Regions from separate parts of the Homo sapiens genome. Here region 1 is linked to region 2. The links are contacts of gene promoters, found by promoter capture Hi-C in blood cells and fetal thymus (Javierre and others, 2016). All regions are on one chromosome and are shown on one strand. The core of a region is centred on a gene start or on the middle of the fragment in contact, and the rest is flanking DNA. Distances in the headings are between cores, read along the strand shown. Region 1 overlaps SPATA21 (spermatogenesis associated 21). Region 2 holds the start of SPATA21 (spermatogenesis associated 21).

The links. Contacts are between HindIII fragments. The CHiCAGO score rates a contact against its expected background, and 5 or more counts as called.
Region 1: a fragment that was not itself captured here is called in contact with the fragment with the promoter of SPATA21 in region 2 in 1 of 17 cell types (endothelial precursors); the score reaches 6.7 in endothelial precursors.

Annotation. Positions count from the first base shown.
Region 1 is chr1:16,398,095-16,402,473 of GRCh38, forward strand. SPATA21 (spermatogenesis associated 21) reads right to left here. Exons shown (of 13, transcript NM_198546.1): 11 at 2,626-2,798; 12 at 1,250-1,427; 13 at 549-728. The coding sequence ends at 671. SZRD1 (SUZ RNA binding domain containing 1) reads left to right here. Exons shown (of 4, transcript NM_001114600.3): 4 at 1-51. Among named protein-coding and RNA genes, the nearest start is that of SZRD1, 33 kb to the left of the region's middle. RefSeq lists a silencer at 3,321-3,496. The HindIII fragment of the contact is 1,153 bases long and covers 1,562-2,714 here.
Region 2 is chr1:16,434,188-16,438,881 of GRCh38, forward strand. SPATA21 (spermatogenesis associated 21) reads right to left here and starts at 3,237. Exons shown (of 13, transcript NM_198546.1): 1 at 2,941-3,237. RefSeq lists a silencer at 3,967-4,137. The HindIII fragment of the contact is 2,188 bases long and covers 2,901-4,694 here.

The sequences.
Region 1 (4,379 bases), core at 888-3,387, 37 kb before region 2:
AGATTAAGCATTTTATAAATTGTATTTTAAATACATGTTTTAAACTTGTCAGATCTTTGTCCTCATTTCAGTCCCTGCCCTCTACCTCTTGCTGTGGCCGCTTATTTAACCCTGGGGGATTTCCCTCTGCCCAGTCCCAGGGAAAGACTGTCTTTGGTAAAACACGAGGCCGGGTGGTATGTGGGTTGAGGGGAAAGGACCCACCCCTCTTGGGGCTCCCAGAGAATGAGAGCCCTGGGTCCTGGGGCTCTGTCGGGGGAGCATGCAGAGGCCACCTCCTGCTCTTCCACAGGGCCTGTCTTAGAGCCAGTGGAGAGAGAGAATGGCTGCTTTTGTGGGGCTCCCAGTCCAGAGGGGGATGTGCTCACCTGAGGAGAGGCCTAGCCCTGTGCTTTGAGAAGGCACAGAAGGTCAAGACTGCACGCAGGGGCACCTGTAGCAGAAATCCCAACCCCGCGCAGGGCTTTGAGGTGGAACCCTGCACTCTGAGAGCCCAGTGGTGGCTGGGTGACAACTTGAGGGCCTTTCTTGGCAAGAGGCACAGAGGCTGAAGTTATTGGTGTTTATTAGCTCACCAGGCCACAAAAGCAAATCCCAGCAGCAGCTCCTGCCTGGTGGCCCATCTGTCTACAGGCCTTGAGCAGCTGCCTAGAGTCAGGCCTCCAGAGGGTCAGTGGGTTCGAGCTGGCACAGAGCTGAGCCACTTTCTGCTGTCAGAGTTGTGTTCCCTGGGGAGAGGAGTAGGGCAGAAGGGTGGGAGACATGTGGCCCTTTCCCTATCTGCCAGTATATGAGCCATCTGTGCGTGCCCAAGTGAGGAGAGAGAGGAGGCCTCCCCTCAGAAATGGTGGAACCAGCAGTTGTGCTTAGGGGCCTGATTCCAAGTCCAGAGCTCCCTTCCCCAGCGGCCTGGAGGGGGACTGCTGCAGGAGACGTTCCCCTCTGCCCAGGTGCACAGTCTGCTAGTCCTAATATGGAACCATAGGGAACTCAGAGTACTCAGTTAGGTGCCACTGAGTCCTGGACACAGGAAAGCAGAAGCACTCTGGCTTCAGTGGAACAATCTGCTGGGTACACAGGCCCTCAACAAAGGTTTGTCTTCTTCGCCTTTTACCCTTTCTCCTCCCTGGAGCAAGCAGCCTCTCAGGTATGATCTCTTAGAAAGATGGATTCCCAGGCATTAGGCCAGGGGCCTCTTAAGGAAGAATCTGGAAGGGCCTGGGCTGGGACCCTTTCTCTGGGCACCCACCTGTTTCCTTGAGATCCTGACTGGAAGAAGGGGCTGCGGATGTCAGGATCCAGGCCAGGGGGTGTGCACTGGTCTAGTGCATAGTGGTTGCTCGGCTGCCTACGGACCATCTTCTTGTCCAGCTGTGGGCAGAGCAGGATGCAGGGCACCTGGGCATAGGGGCTCTGCAGGTTGGGAGCTGGTGAAGAAGGAGGCAGAAGGAGGAATGCTTCACAGCATGCCCAGCCTTGGGAAGCAGGCAGATTCAAGTGAAATCCTGGCGTTGCTACATAATGACCTGAGTGGTTTGGGGCAAGTCACTTAACCTCTCTAAGCTTCTGAGCTGGAGGTGATAGTGGTACCCACCTCACAAAAGTTGATGATGAGGATTAAAGGAGAAATATATGCAAAGCACTCAGCTCAGTGCTGCACACAGAATAAGAGCTGGTAACAGCTTAACAAGGAGCAGAGGACTTTGTGATGGGTGTTGGCAAAGTCTAGTAGGCATGCTCTAGAAAGACTGCAAAGCTCCTATCCTGTTACTTGGCACATAGTAGGAGTCTAATAAATGGTACCTGGGGGAAGGGAGGCAGGCTTGCCCAGTGGAAAGAGCATAGATTTTGGGGTCAGACCTGGATATAAACTCCCCTTTCCAAAACACTAGTTAGGGGCATTGGGCAAATTGCTGAACTTTATCAGTTTCATTTTTGTTTTTTTTTTTGAGACAGAGTTTTGCTCTTGTCCCCCAGGCTGGAGTGCAATGGCGTGATCTCGGCTCACTGCAACCTCCATCTCCCGGGTTCAAGCGATTCTCCAGCCTCAGCCTCCAGAGTAGCTGGGATTACCGGTGCTCGCCACCACACCTGGCTAATTTTTTAGAGATGGGGTTTCACCATGTTGGCCAGGATGGTCTCGAACTTCTGACCTCAGGTGATCCGCCCACCTCGGCCTCCCAAAGTGCTGGGATTACAGATGTGAGCCACTGTGCCTGGGTCAGTTTCATTTTTCTAATCTGTAAAATGGGGTAAATACATGATTATGAGTATTAAATTCTAGAGCATCTGCAAAGGGCCTAGCACAGTGGGCACTCAATAAACAGTGAGCTGGGATTGCTAATCTCTACAGCTGTTCTTTCTCAGTCCTGGCTCATGGGACCAACCTGTGCTCAGGCTAAGGCAGGAGGGGAGGAGTCCAACGCAGGAGGCCATTGTCATAGGCCTGGATGGAAAATAGTGATTATCAGCCTGTTTTCTGATGTACACAGTTAAGCCCGAAGTGGGAAACTGGCCTCTCAGCTCCCTTGGCCTGGCTGCCTGAGGGTCCAAGGAAAGGAGACCAGATGGGCAAGAGAGCAAAGCCCCAACCCTAGCCCATCCCACCCTGCCCAGGGCCCTCACCATAGTTCTGCTGCTTCAGCCGGCTCAGGATACTGAGGACCTTTCGTTCTGGAACTTCTGAGCTCTCTTCTTGCTGGGGGTTGTAGGGAAGCTTCTGCAACCGCAGCCGGCCTACGGCCGCTTCCATCTCCTGGGCCTTGCAGGTGCCTTCCTTCAGCTTTTTCTGGTAGTAGCTGGGGAGGCAGTGCCCACCCATCTCAGCCTGGCTGTGTTTAATTCACCCTTCTCCTCCTCAGCCCCTATCTCTCTGGCCAGCTCTGGAGCAGGAACACAAGCCTAGGAGTCAGGAAACCTGGCTTCTAGTCTCAGCTCAGCCCTTTCTGTGACCATGAGCAAGTCACTGCCCTGCTCTGGGCCTCAGTCACCCTGTGTAAAATGGAGGGAAGGGGTTCTCTCTACCCTGTCAATGCAAGTGACTTGACTTCTCTGAGCTTCAAGTTTCCGTTGGGTAAAACAGATCAGACAGTTCACATGCCGTAGGATTAAATAACAAGGATGAATTAACAAGGCCCATCAAGCACGCAGCATGGTGTCTGGCACACGGAAAATGCTTTGTACATGTTACCTATTATTTTGGGGAGGGGCGTGGCGGGGAGACAGAGTCTCACTCTGTTACCCAGGCAGGAGTGCAGTGGCGTGAACATGGCCTCACTACAGCCTTAAACTCCTGGGCTCAACTGATCGTCCTGCCCTAGCCTCTTGAGTAGTTGGGACCATAGGCACCAACCACCACACCCAGCTGATTTTTTTATTTTGTGTAGAGACGTGGTCTCGCTGTGTTGCCCAGGCTGGTCACAAACTCCTTGCCTCAAGCAATCCTTACACCTTGGCCTCCCAAAGTGTTGGGATTACAGGCGTGAGCCACTGCATTACCTATGATTACCTATGATTTTATCACTGATACATTTACTTAGATGTGCAAGTACTTATCTGTGCAATTAACTCCTGCTCATCTTCCAGATTTCAAGTTAAGGACTCTGCTCCAGAAAATCTTCTCTGTCCTATCCCCACCCCTACCCTACAGAGTAGCTAGGCTCCCGCTGGAGGCCCCCTGCAACCTGTAGTTACCCAATTATAGCCCGCAACCCACTTGATTTTCTTAACTCACTGCTTGCCTTTTCCCCCGCTAGACTACAACATCATTCATTTAGTAAGTATTCACTGAATGTTCACTGTGTCCTGGCCACTCTTCTAAGTGATTGGAAAAGAGTAGTGAAAGAGACATCCACACAGGGTCCCTGTATCATAGCCTCAGCCGCACCTCTTACTCCAGCCGTCTACTAACACCGTGGGCCAAGGGTGCCGCAGTGGCCACTTTCACACAGGCTTCAACTAGCTTTGCACAGGGACAACCCTACGGGTCTCACCTCAGGCCTGAGCCTCTTGCTTCCTGCCCCAGGGATTCTCTGACACACGTGCAACCCAGAAGTGTCGGGGAGTTAAGCACCTGTGGGGCACCCTTGCCAAAGGTGTTAGTAGATGAGCTATACAGGCTTTTCCCTTTCTTCTGGCAGTTCTGAGCTGCCATTCTTTTTTTTTTTTTTTTTTTTTTTTTTTTTGAGATGGAGTTTCGCTCTTGTTGCCCAGGCTGGAGTGCAGTGGTGGCATCTCAGCTCACTGCAACCTCCGCCTCCTGGGTTCACGTCATTCTCCTGCCTCAGCCTCCCGAGTAGCTGGGATTACAGGCACCCGCCACCACGCCCAGCTAATTTTTTGTATTTTCAGTAGAGACGAGGTTTCACCATGTTAGCCAG
Region 2 (4,694 bases), core at 1,987-4,486:
ATTCCTTTTTATGGCTGAGTAATATTTCACTGTATGGCTAGACCCCATTTTGTTTATCCATTCATCAGTAGATAGAAATTGAGGTTGTTTCTTTTTTCTTTCTTTTTTTTTTTTTTGAGACAGAGTTTTGCTCTGTCACTCAGGCTGGAGTGCAGCAGTGCGATCGTAGCTTACTATAGCCTCAAACTCCTGGGCTCAAGGGATCCTCTCCCCTCAGCCTCTGAGTGGCTGGCTGGGACTACAGACGCATGCCACCATGCCTGGTTCGTCTTAAAAATTTTTTAATTTTAAATAGAGGCGAGGTCTCATTAGGTTGCCCAGGCTGCTCAAAGTCCTGAGCTTAAGTGATCCTCCCACCTTGGCCTCCCAAAGTGCTGAGATTACAGGTGTGAGCCACCATGCCTGGCCCGTTTCCACATTTTACCTATTATGAATAACACTGCTATGAACATTCATGTACAAGTTTTTATATGAACATACATTTGCATTTCTCTTGGTTATGTATATAGGAACGGAATTGCTGAATCACATGTCAACTCTATTTTTAGCTTTTGAGTAATTGCCAGACTTTCTCAAAGTGGCTGTATCATTTTACCTTCTTACCAGCAGCATATGACTGCTCCAATTTTTCTGCATCCTCTCCAACACTTGTTATTATCTGTCTTATTTATTTATTTATTTATTTTTTGAGACAGGGTCTTCCTTTATCACCCAGGATGGAGTGCAGTGGTATGACCATAGCTCACTGCAACCTCCAACTCTGGGGTTCAAGGGATCCTCCCACCTTAGCCTCCTGAGTAGCTGAGACTACAAGTGCACACCACCACACCTGGCTAATTTTCAAATATTTTGTAGATGGGAATCTCACTATGTTGTCCAGGCTGGTCTTGAACTCCTCAGCTCAAGGGATCCTCCCGCCTCAGCCTCCCAGTGTTTTGGGATTACAGGTGTGAGCCACTGTACCGCCTTACTTGTCTTTTTTATCATAGCTATCCTAGTGGATGTGAGTGTAAAGTGTTATCTCATTCTGATTTTGATTTGCATTTCCCCAATGGCCGATAATGTTGGACATCTTCATGTGCTTATTGGCCATTTGTCTATCTTCTTTGGAAAAATGTTTATTCAGAGCCTTCGTCCTTTTTTTTTTGAGATGGAGTCTCGCTCTGTCACCCAGGGTGGAGTGCAGTGGCCTAGTTCCAGCTCACTGCAACCTCCGTCTCCCGTGTCCATGCAATTCTCCTGCTTCAGCCTCCCTAGTAGCTGGGATTACAGGTGTGTGCCACCACACCAGACTAATTTTTGTATTTTTAGTAGAGACGCGGTTTTGCCATCTTGACCAGGCTGGTCTCAAACCCCTGACCTCAGGTGATCTGCCCACCTCAGCCTTCCAAAGTACTGGGATTACAGGTGTGAGCCACCATGCCCGGCCCCCCCCTTTTTTTTTTTTCAGACAGGGTCTTACTCTGTCCACAGGCTGGACTGCAGTGGCATGAACGTGGCTCACTATAGCCTTGACCTCTTGGGCTCAGGTGATCCTCCCATTTCAGCCTCCCAAAATGCTGGGATTACATGCATGAGTCACAGCACCCAGCCTGCCTCTGTCCATTTATACTGGGTTGTCTTTTTATTATTGCACGGTAAATGTTCTTTATAAATTCTAGATACATGTCCTGAATCATATATATGATCTGCAAAAATTTTCTCCCATTATGTGGATTACATTTTCACCTTTTTGTCTTTTGAAGCACAGAAGTTTTAAATTTTTGTAAAAGTCCCATTTATCGGCCTGGTGCGGTGGCTCACACCTGTAATCCCAGCACTCTGGGAGGCTGAGGCGGGCGGATCATGAGGTCAGGAGTTTGAGACCAGCCTGGCCAGCAAGGTGAAACCCCATCTCTACTAAAGATACAAAAAATTAGCTGAGTGTGGTGGTGCGTGCCTGTAATCCCAGCACTTTGGGAGGCCGAGGCGGGCAGATCACCTGAGGTTGGGAGTTTGAGACCAGCCTGACCAACATGGAGAAACCCCGTCTCTACTAAAAGTACAGAATTAGCCGGGCATGGTGGCACATGCCTGTAATCCCAGCTAGTCAGGAGGCTGAGGCAGGAGAATTGCTTGAACCTGGCAGGTGGAGGGTTGCAGTGAGCCGAGATCGCACCATTGCACTCCAGCCTAGATGACAGGGTGAGACTCTGTCTCAAAAAAAAAAAAAAAAAATACAGATAGGGTGCAGTGTATACTGCTCAGGTGATGGGTGGACCAAAATCTTACAAATCACCACTAAAGAACCTACTCATGCAGGGCAAGGTGGCTCACGCCTGTAATCCCAGAACTTTGGGATGCCAAGGGGGGCAGATCACTCGAGGTCAGGAGTTTGAGATCACCCTGGCTAACATGGTGAAATCCTGTTTCTACTAAAAATACAAAAATTAGCTGGGCATGGTGGTGCCTGCCTGTAATCCTAGGTACTTGGGAGGCTGAGGCAGGAGAATCGCTTGAACCTGGGAGATGGAGGTTGCAGTGAGCAGAGACTGCACCACTACACGCCAGCCTGGGCAACAGAGCAAGACTCCGTCTCAAAAAAAATTACTAATGTAAACAAAAAAAAAACACCAAAAAACAAAAACCTTAGTCATGTAGCCAAATACCACCTGTACCCCAATAACCTATGGAAAAACAAATAAATAAATAAATAAATAAAAAGTTTTGAAATCAGGAAGTGTGAGTCCTCCAACTTTGTTCTTTTTCAAAATTCTTTGGGTATTGAGTGCCCCTTTTATAAGTGGTTTCCTCATCTGAAAAATGGGAGAATTTCTCTTGGAAATATCTATGATGGCAGGAAAATACAGCAGATAAAGATAAGTGGCATATCATATATATGTCTGGAGGCCGTCAGGGAAAGCTTGTTCACCTTACACCCCACCTTGGCCCTGCACCTACCAGAAATCAGCTGGATGAGTCACAGTGAGATTTTCCACCCCTGCTCACCGCCTTGCACATAGGATGGGCTCTGTCTGAGCCTATACTTTGCCTGTTGGCTTGAATTGGATTTGTTTGGTATACAGGGCAGTTAAACTGGGAATAGATGGCAGGTCCAATTATTCTCAGCAGCAGAGGTTTAGGAATGCATTTCAGGAATATCCAGCCATGTGGTTAGGGTTTGAGAATAAGGCAAGGGGCTGTGTGACCTCCAACTACTGGACAGTGTCATTTCCCCCAGCTTGTCACTGGTTCAGTGGCCCCCATTACACAATGAAGATAACAATCGTTGCCTTGCCAACCTCACAGTGATTATTGGGCCAGGGTACTCTCTCCCAGAAAGCCTTCCCTGACTCTCCCCAGACTGTGTGGGGTTTCTTCTCTTTGCTCCCACAGGCCCCTGTGAATTTGCTTCATTACAGTACCTTTCATTCTGCTTTGCCAATGACTGCTTTTCTCTCTGTCTCCTCCAGTCTGCGAGCTCCAGGATGGTAGGAGCTGGATTGGCCACATCCCAGTGACCCCAGTACTCAGCACCTGGCATAGGGTATGTGCTCGATGCCTGTCTTTGTTAGACTGAACAGAACTGAAAGTGCTCTGAATGGCTGGGTGCGGTGGCTCACACCTGTAATCCCAGCACTTTGGGAGGCCGAGGTGGGTGGATCACTTGAGGTCGAGTTATAGACCAGCCTGGCCAACATGGTGAAACCCCGTCTCTACTAAAAATACAAAAATTAGCCAGGCATGGTGGCGCATGCCTGTAATCCCAGCTACTTAGGAGGCTGAGGCACGAGAATCACTTGAACCTGGGAGGCAGAAGTTGCAGTGAGCTGAGATCATGCCACTGTCTTCCAGCCTGGGTGGTAGAGTGAGACTTAGTCTCAAAAAAAAAAAAATTGGAAAATAAGGCCAGGTATGGTGGCTCATGCCTATAATCCTAGCACTTTGGAAGGCTGAGGCAGGAGGATCTCTTGAAGACAGGAATTCAAGACCAGCCTGGGCAACATAGCAAGACCCCCGTCTCTACAAAAAGTAAGAAAAATAGCAGGGTAGGGTGGTGTGTGCCTGTAGGCCCAGCTACTCAAAAGGTTGAGGCAGGAGGATCCCTTGAGCCCGGGAATTTGAGGCTGCAGTGAGTGATGATCGCACCATTGCACTCCAGTGTGGGGTGACAGAGAGAGAAAGAAAGAGAGAGACCCTGTCTAAAAAAAAAAAAAAAAAGAAAAGAAAAAGAAAAGAAAAGAAAAGAAAAATAACCAATATTTGCAAAAATGTGAAGAAATTGAAACCCTTGTGAACGTAAATGGTGCTGCTGCTGTGGAAGACAGTTTGGAGGCTCCTCAAAAAGGTGAGCAAGGCCGGACATGGTGGTTCACACCTGTAGTCCCAGCTACTTGGGAGGCTGAGTTGGGAGGATCACTTGAGCCTGGGAGGTTGAGGCTGCAGTGAGCCATGATCATGCCAGTGCTTTCCAGCCTGGGCAACAGAGTGAGATGCTGTTTCAAACAAAACAAAACAAAACAAAACCACTAAACATAGCATTATTGTATAACTCAGCAGTTTCACTCCTATGTATACACTCAAGAAAATGGAAAACAGGACTAGAACAAGTGTTTGAACACCAATGCTCATAGTAGCCCGATTCCCAATACCAAAAGGTGATAACATCCCAATTGTTGACAGATGAATGGATAAACAAAATATGGTATATACAT